Linked DNA regions of Homo sapiens: all the other regions are linked to region 3. Evidence: promoter capture Hi-C in 16 types of primary human blood cells and fetal thymus (Javierre and others, 2016). All regions are on one chromosome and are shown on one strand. The core of a region is centred on a gene start or on the middle of the fragment in contact, and the rest is flanking DNA. Distances in the headings are between cores, read along the strand shown. Region 1 holds the start of RAP1GDS1 (Rap1 GTPase-GDP dissociation stimulator 1). Region 2 overlaps TSPAN5-DT (TSPAN5 divergent transcript). Region 3 holds the start of PAPSS1 (3'-phosphoadenosine 5'-phosphosulfate synthase 1).

The links. Contacts are between HindIII fragments. The CHiCAGO score rates a contact against its expected background, and 5 or more counts as called.
Region 1: the fragment with the promoter of RAP1GDS1 here is called in contact with the fragment with the promoter of PAPSS1 in region 3 in 1 of 17 cell types (non-activated CD4 T cells); the score reaches 11.0 in non-activated CD4 T cells.
Region 2: a contact is called between a fragment that was not itself captured here and the fragment with the promoter of PAPSS1 in region 3, in 1 of 17 cell types (non-activated CD4 T cells). The highest score is 7.8, in non-activated CD4 T cells.

Annotation. Positions count from the first base shown.
Region 1 is chr4:98,260,094-98,262,793 of GRCh38, reverse strand. It overlaps RAP1GDS1 (Rap1 GTPase-GDP dissociation stimulator 1), which reads right to left and starts at 1,410. Exons shown (of 15, transcript NM_001100427.2): 1 at 1,225-1,410. The coding sequence starts at 1,228. RefSeq lists silencers at 1,120-1,189, 1,290-1,589 and enhancers at 1,556-2,118, 1,870-2,169. The HindIII fragment of the contact is 4,992 bases long and covers 98-2,700 here.
Region 2 is chr4:98,661,241-98,664,248 of GRCh38, reverse strand. It overlaps TSPAN5-DT (TSPAN5 divergent transcript), which reads right to left. Exons shown (of 3, transcript NR_148380.1): 3 at 1-1,259. The region is part of intron 1 of LOC112267901 (a long non-coding RNA gene); the gene reads right to left. Among named protein-coding and RNA genes, the nearest start is that of TSPAN5-DT, 3.8 kb to the right of the region's middle. The HindIII fragment of the contact is 4,440 bases long and covers 1-3,008 here.
Region 3 is chr4:107,718,952-107,721,651 of GRCh38, reverse strand. It overlaps PAPSS1 (3'-phosphoadenosine 5'-phosphosulfate synthase 1), which reads left to right and starts at 1,418. Exons shown (of 12, transcript NM_005443.5): 1 at 1,418-1,532. The coding sequence starts at 1,473. RefSeq lists enhancers at 1-115, 2,106-2,165 and a silencer at 1,226-1,475. The HindIII fragment of the contact is 5,198 bases long and covers 1-2,700 here.

The sequences.
Region 1 (2,700 bases), core at 161-2,660, 9.5 Mb after region 3:
GTTTAGATACTTCTTGAAGATTCTGAGTTGCACCACCTAACTCTGAACGTGTTGAGCACTGTATTAACAGATGAAAGGACCACATTCATCTCAAGCTTTAAATAACTCGCACAGAAGGGGTGGGAAAAGTCCCAGCTGACAGATGCCAAGGGAGCAAATTTTAAAAAGAGGAAATTATGACAGACAGGAGTGGAAGCAAACTGGGGAACTTAGTACAAGTCGCTACTATTAAAAGAAACTTTGAGCTCTTAATTACATGACAGCATTCATCAGACGTTTCTGTGATTACTGAATGTAACAGTTAAGCAATAGATGATGTAAAAAAATTAGGTCAAATGTATATATCGTTTTATAAAACATATTTGCTCTTAAATCTCTCATCCAAACCAATCTCTTCAGATTAACTATAAATACAAAGGAACTAAAATCAGATTATGCAGATTAGACAGGAGGAAGCTGGGAAAGAATAACTACCATGTAAGTTCGGTAACAACGTTACAGGGCGCAGTTTCCTGCTACAGAAGACGGACGAAGGAATCCAGAAAATAGGCTGGGCACGGGAATATTGCACACTGTAGTCACCCAGCACTAATTCAACAGCTAGCGGCTCTATCCTGCCTCACGTTCCTCGTGGCCTCTGACAAGTCATCCTTTCAACCTATGAGGCTGTCCGCTCTCCCCCTTGGAAAATAATTTCCGTGCAGGTTGTAAGATCTCCCTCACAAACTACTTGCTTCCACTTCCCCGCCCGGGATGAGGAGTCTCCACGACGGGGAAAGGTCGCACTGACAGAGAAGGAAGTTACACGAAGTGGTAGTGGTCGGACCCGAGCCTCGAGCTCAGTACACGCGGGGGAAAAGGAAGCGGGCGGCCTCTGGAGAAACGGGGATGGAGCTGCAGATGCGAGCCCGCGAGGCAGGCTCCGTGGTGCCCGGGCACCGGCAGGAAGAATGGAGGAGGGGAGGCGAGGCTGCGAGGTGCCGGGGAGCCGGGCGGCGGTCCGGCCCGCGGCCGACCCCACCCCAGCCCGCGCTCGGGACCCTCCCAGCCCCGGCACCCGGCGTGCGTTCCGCGTGCGCCGACTCTCCCCGGAGGAACAGCCACCGTCTCACACCCGGGGACTGGAGAAATCCGGCAACTTTGCGCGAGAAATGCTTCCCACCCTGCAGCACGCCGAGAAAGAAAAAAATGTCAGGCGATGACGGCGGAGGAAGGATGACTTACCCATGTTGCTCCCCGAGGGTGAGGAACCGGCGGGGCGAGGCGAAGGTCTGTGGTGCGGGCGGCGCGGCTCTGTGTCCTCCCTCTACCTCCGTCTCTCCCGCAGCCAGGGAGGGACCCGCGGGGGGCGGCCGCCGGGGAGGAGCAGCTGGTGCTGCTGCAGGCGGCGCGGCCGCGGCGGGGACGAGCGGCGGGGGGCGGGGCGGGGCGGGGCGGGGCGGGACTGGCGGGCGCAGCCTGCGGCGGGCGCGGCTCCGAGCGGGCGGGCGGCGGAGGCGCGGGAGCCGGCCTGAAGAGCTCCGGCCCCGACTCGCAGCCCACGAGCGCCCCGCCCTCCCCACCGAGCATGCTCAGTGCCTTTTCCACCCCTCCCTCTGTGGCGAGCGAGGCTAAGCGTGCGGGTGGGCGTGTGTTTGCAGACCGGCTGCAGCCGCGGCAGAGGATCTTCATGGCGGCCGCCTGAGAGGCGGAGGGCGGGCCCGGAGAAAACAGGGAATGGGGATATTGAGCCCGATCTGCTAGCAGAGGACTCACCGCTGCCTTGCTTTCCCACCCTGACCCACCAACCCCTCACCCGGAACCCGGGCTTGCCTTCTTTACGGGACGACCGGGCCGCACAGGCCGGAATTAACCGGAGAAGAGGCTGGGCCGCCGCAGAGCCGGGAGGGGTGGTGGGAAGCCAGAGCTGACGAAGTTGGAAAGGACGTGTAGGCGACTAGGCCTGCGCCTCTTGGGGACACCTGAGGACGCCCGCTGGGCAGCTGGCTGAGGAGGGGCCGCCGGGAGGGCGCTCGATAGCAGGCGTGTCATTGGGACACTTAAGGCTGCTCTAGCTGTGGCCAGCTTAGAAACAAAGGTCCCGGCAGCGAGGAGAGCGCCCGCCCCAGGATTTCCTCGAAGAGTGTGTCGTTCTCCCTCCCGGAGGAGCGCGGCCTTCCGTTCCCCGGAGGGCTCTGGAAAGGCCCTTTAACCGGGGTGCCGTCGGGCTCCATCCTGCTGTGAAAGCGGGAGGAACTACGTTCCCCAGGCTTGAAAATAAGCGTCCTGCTGGGTTGGCTGCGGCACTGCCAAAGCTAACCCGGCGGAGGTCCTTTGATCCCGGGGCCACCGCCCGCTCCCACCACCACCTCGGCCTCGGGGAGAACCTGAGCAGGGCTCTCCCACTGAGGGCGTCCTCCCGACTGGGCATGCACGTGAGGCCGGGGCTGGCTTCGGTCCTCTTCCCTGGGGTAGGAGGCTGGAGGAAACCGATTTCTCTGCACCCTAATCTTGCCCTGGCTCCTCCTGAGTGGGGTGAGGAATCTGGTCGCTCTCCAAGGCTACAGCGACCGGAGTCCTTCAGGGGACACTGTGCAGTCAGCAGTACAACCTGTTGGAGAAAGATGGCTGAATCGAGGTGTCTTTCCCCTGTCAACTTTCACTCGGTCAATCCAATGTTGAGAAAGGGCTTTTTTTGTTTGTTTGTTAATTAGTCGCCTA
Region 2 (3,008 bases), core at 499-2,998, 9.1 Mb after region 3:
TAACAAAAATATAGTTTAATTTTATATCATAGCTAACTAAAAAGTATTTTAAGTTGACCTCATTTCATAAAGGATTTGAGGTGAGAAGACCTTTTGTTTTAATCAGGGTTCTTTGATTTGAAAATTTGAGATACTCACTTCAAAGTATCTAAAGCCCAAATGGGATGTGATGAATGATTCCATCTAAAAATCTCATAGACCTCAAAGACAGAGTCCTCTTTAAATCTAGAAGCAGGCCTTTAGCAGGGATGGGAGCCTTTCAGAGCACAAAATGCACAACCATACACAGCACCCAGGCTGTCAGACTCTGCTACTGTTTTTCTCTGTTTAGGCTTCCTTCCTCTTTCTGCAGAGGATGAGGGAGAGTCTTGGCTTCCTCCTGGAAATGCGGACCCACCCCCAGCTTTCGGGTAAACATTGCCTGCACTTCAGCTGGGCGCAGGGTTCCCTTTGTTACTGAGACAGACTCTCAGGTTGGCCCAGCCTGAATCTACCGGGACCCCATCAACTGTGAAGTACAAACCTCGCTGGAGGTGGGAGAGCACCTTGTGGTTGAGAAGGTCTGAGAAAGGGGTGGGTGTGATCTGTCAGACACCCTAAAATGTTTCCCTGTATTGTTTGAGACAGAAACAGCTAGGGAAGAGAGGGGGTGGTGGGTGTGGGGAATAGAAAAAACGTGGTACTAAGAGAAATGCAGAAATGCTGGTGGTGATTCAAGAGGAGAAAATCAATAAAGGCTTGGGGCAGAACCTCAAAAGGTGTTTAAGTCAGGATACTTTCAGTTGTATGAAACGGAAAACCCCTGTCAAAGTATCTTAACCAAGAAATTTGTCTCATCTGACAGGAAGTCGTGAGTAAGGCCACCTTCAAGGTTGGTTAAGTCAGCCATACAACAAAGGCTGGAAGGCCCTGGTTCTTTTTATCCTTCCACTCTGCCATCCTTGGTGTGGTCTTTGTCATCAGGCTGTAGAGGATCGAGGCATCACATCCAAACCCAACCAAGTCCAAGGGCGAAAGAGACCATTTCTTAGATGCAAGGAAACCTCTAGCAGATTCTTCTCATGGCTTGTTGACCAGAATTGGGCCACCTGCCCATTCCTGAACCACACATTAGCAAGAGGAATGGGACTGCCAGATGTGACGCAGAGGGCCAGTCTTCCCAGAGCATGTGGCTGCTTTAAGAGGGGGACGCTGAACACAGCTGCTAGGGTTCTGAGAGGAAGGCGGCAGGAGGGGTGTGGAGGCAACCAGCAGGGCGGCTACAGAGAAGCAAAAGAAAAACAGAGAGGAGCAGAGAGGCAGACAATGACAGAGCCCAAGAGGAGGGAGGCAGGAAGGTGGGCAGGAACAATAAAGCACAGGTGGAGACAGACAAGCTCGTTAAGTTTGGTGTCTTAGGTTAAAACGCTGTTGTCATATCTTGCTCCTCAGCCAGGCAACTATTAGAAGAACACGCTTTACCTGTTTTCACTGCCACTTGAAGAGCTGATTAACTTGTCAGTAGTTAAACTTATTAACCATTTTTCAACCTCAGAGTTATAAGGGAGGTGGCCTTAGCAGTATTCAGACAGAAAATTTTTCTCCTTTTCTCCTTAAAATAGATCAGCATTTATTGAGTTGTGAAGGAGTTGCGTGAAATAAATATGATTACTTAGTTACTTTCTTACATCTTTATGTATAATTTTATCTTCTTAATTGTAAAAGCAATTTAACCACACTTAAAAATTGCAAACCAGAAACATGAAAACAAAATCACCCAGCCTTATAACTGTTCTTATTTGGCAAAAATTAACTCCTAACTTTTTTTCATACAACTGCATACCGTTTTGTAGACTGCTTTATTTTTCAAAACGTGTATCATATACATGGTACAAATTTCAAAAACAGACTAAAGGGGTTATTTAAAAATAAAACATGTCTCCTTCCTATCAGTATCTTTAGTCCCCCAGTTTGCCCCCCATTCCACCCTAACTCGCTGTTACCAGTTTATTTCGTTTTCTTCCATAGATAGCCTACCCATTAACAAGGAAATATGTGTATGGATATTCTTTTGCCAACAGAGCTTATCTTTTCACAAAATGATAGCCTACTGTGTACACTGTTTTTGTTCCTTGTTTTTAAAATTTAACAATATTACTTGGAGATAATTCCATATATAGTGCCTTTAAAATTTAACATTATAATGTATCCATATATTGCCACATACTCTATAAGCAGTATCTTCAAGAGCTGTAAAAACTGTGAGCAAATGACTCATTCATTCCTTTAATAAATATTTATCAAGCACCTGCCATATCTGCAGAGCTCTGGTGATTCTAAGATTACCAAGGGTTAGGTCACACCCTAGAAGGAGTCACAGCAGATTGAGGAGACAGGTAGGTAAACAAGTTCTTACAGGCAGCCTTTAAGTGCCGGGATGGAAGAACACAGCGGGTGTTGAGGGAATAAAGAAGGAGCCTCCGAGACATTGAACAAAAGTAGTGAAGAATAAGAGAAATCAGCTCACAGACAAGAGACAAGGAGAATGCCCCAGGCAGAAACTCTAAATGACATGTGCAGAGGCACAGAATGTGAAGGAACATTGTGGTCCAAGTAACTACAAGGAATTGGATATCACCCCTACTCTTTGATCTTTAATTTCTGGCCAAGTCTTCAATATAAATAATGCTATGATATACATCTTGCAGTGTATAACTTTTTCCATCTGCTGGGGTATTTCTTTGGGTAGATTCCCAGAAGAGGGACTGCTGAGTCAAAATGTAGGAGCACTCTGACCTGATATATACAGCCAAAATGCTTTCCAAATGGACATATTATTTCATAAGGACACCAACAATGTATGTGCTAACCAGTGCTCATTATTTTTGTATCTTTATTAGTTTTAATGTATACTTCATTTATTACTAGATTAATTTCCCCATATATTTTATTTCTTATATGATTTATTTTCTGTTTATACTCAACCACTGCGATTCTATATTTTACTATAGCTCTATGAGCCCTACTTA
Region 3 (2,700 bases), core at 169-2,668:
CAGCAGTCTCAGGTCTTGGTGATGGGCGGGGTCAGGGGCGGAGGGCGGCTGTGTCACAGGGGGGCAGAGCTGCAAGCAACTCTTTTGGTGCCAGGGGCAAGCTGCGGAAAAGAGAACTCAGAGTTATGGGGGGTGTGGGGAAGATAACTCCTGGAGGAAACTCTGTCATGCCCCCAGCCCATCCTCCTACGAACTAGCCCTGGAATAATTAGGTGAATTTGAAAATGTCCTCCGTAGGCGGGAGTTCTATTCGGGGTTACCTGCGGCCTCCCCGGTCCTGGATTTCAGTCCTCTAGGTATTTCCTGAGTAGCTCTTAATAATACAGAAGCCCCTTTCCGGTGTAGGTCGGTAAGAAGCACTGCACAGAAATCTGATGCGAAGTGGGGTCTCCTAGCGGAGAGGGAGGCACCTTATAAGTAATCACTAATCCAGGTTGAGATATTAATTATTGATGTCAAGAAATCGGGCTTTTATTATATCTTTTTAAAAACTGTGTCTTGAGGCCAGGCGCTGTCGCTCACGCCTGGAATCCCAGCACTTTGGGAAGCTGAGGCGGGCGGATCATGAGGTCAGGAATTCGAGACCAGCCTGGCCAACATAGTGAAACCCCGTCTCTACTAAAAATACAAAAATTAGCCGGGCGTGGTGGCACACGCCTGTAGTCCCAGCTACTCGGGAGGCTGAGGCAGGAGAATCGCTTGAACCCGGGAGGCAGAGGTTGCGGTGAGCCGAGATCCTACTACTGCACTCCAGCCTGGGCGACAGAGCAAGACTCCGTCTCAAAAAAAGAAAAAAAATTGTGTCTTGAGTAGAATTTTAATGTGGAGAATGAGCTGTTCGGTAAATCAATTCTTCCCTTTGCAAAGCTGTAAAACATTTAAAACATTTGGCCAGGGTGACATGGGCACAGAAGGGGCAGACAGGAGGTCGGCAGCCAGGTCTGTGGAGGAGTAGCCACAGGTGCAAGAGGCCGCGTCAGCGTCCTCCCAATCAGCCTCTGCTGAGGGAGTGCCGCGCGCGGCGAGCCGCGCACTCCCCTTGCCTTTCTCCCGGCGGCTGGTACTCGCTCTTAGAGATCTGCGTTAGCTCAGAGCTAGGCTCGGTGCCGCAGAGGCACCTGAGGTTCCACGACTGCATTCCAGGCCCCGCCCCTTCATCGGGATCTGGAAGGAGGAGCGCCGTGCGCGCCCGCGCCGGCGCGAGCGCTGAAGCTCCGCCCCCAGCTTCTACCTCCGGTTCTATCCCGGCGTTTCGCCCTTCCCCACAGACCTCTGCCCCGGACCCATTTCCGAGGCGCGCCGCATGCGCCGCGCAACCCAGGCCACGAGCACGGGCGCGTGCTTAAGTCAGCGCGCGCCCGCTCCGACGCGAGGAGGCCCCGCCCTCCAGCCCCGCCCCGCTCGCTGGCCTGCCCTCCTCTTGCTACCCTCCCGGCGCAGAGAACCCCGGCTGCTCAGCGCGCTCCGCGGTCATGGAGATCCCCGGGAGCCTGTGCAAGAAAGTCAAACTGAGCAATAACGCGCAGAACTGGGTAAGCTGGGGACGAAGGCGAGACGGCGAGGAGCGGAGGGGCTGTGGGAGCAGCTCGTTCCGGAGCCGCCGCCTCTCTCCCGCCTCCTCCGCATCCATCCTTCCAGGAGCGCGGAGGTGGGTTCCGGGGCTGCGGCGCCTCCCGGCTGGGGCCGTGGGTGGTTGCGAGGCAGAGGGGCGCGGCGCAGGGTGGGGATCTCGCCCTAGCTTGGCGCAGCGTGCGGTCCGAGCCACCGTTCGTGGGAAGAACGCCCCCCCTCCCCAGCGCCTCCGCTCAGGTAAGACCCCCAGGAAAATCCTTCACCCGTGAACTGGCGCTTGCTGAAACCTCCGGGTGCTGAAACCTGCGGCTGCAGAAACAGGAGCTTCCTGCATACCTTGGAGTGGCCTGAAGATGTGCAGAGAAGGCGGAGGCGGGCGCCTTCGACGCGTTCTTGGTTTTTCTTGGCTCTGCCAGTGCGGTTGGCCCAGGTTTGGGTCCATCTCCGTGTCTTTCCATTTCTGAGTTTCAGTGTGAAAGGAGAGTACCCAACAATGTGGTCATTCATGAGTTGAGACTGCCCTGAACTGAGGTTCTTTGTGTCTCTGTGTTAAATCGGAATGTTTAACAAGTAGGAGTTTGGAAGACTCCATTCCTGGTGACAGTCAGGTATGGGACCAGTCCTTTATAACGTTTAGTAATGACTGCCAGTTGACTTTGTAAAGTGCTGTGTCCTCATAACGTTGCTTACTTCCTTAATTTCTCTGTGATGAGAAAGAGCCTTATCTTCCTTTGTAAGTGTGCAGCAGGGAAGGGCCCATCTTTGGAGTCTGGAAAGGCACTGGTTTAAGTTTAGACGGAAACGTTATTTCACAGTCCAATGGAATAATAAGGTTTAAATGCAATGTCTCCCAAAACGTTACTTGCCCTAGATGAATCAAAGAAAAAAAAAACAAGCAATTTCAGGCAAATGTTCTTTGGAAGTCATTAATTTACCACATCTGTTGTTATTGTTATCATGAGTTGTTTACTGATTCCTCTCTCCTTTTATTTAACTCTATAGATGGTAAGGAGGGGAAGGAGATTTAAAAGATGAATTAGAACAGTGGAAAGAGCGCTGGACTCCTGGCCTGGTCTCTCATCCCAGCTTTGCCATTTACTAGCTGTGTGATCTTGAGGAGAGTCACTT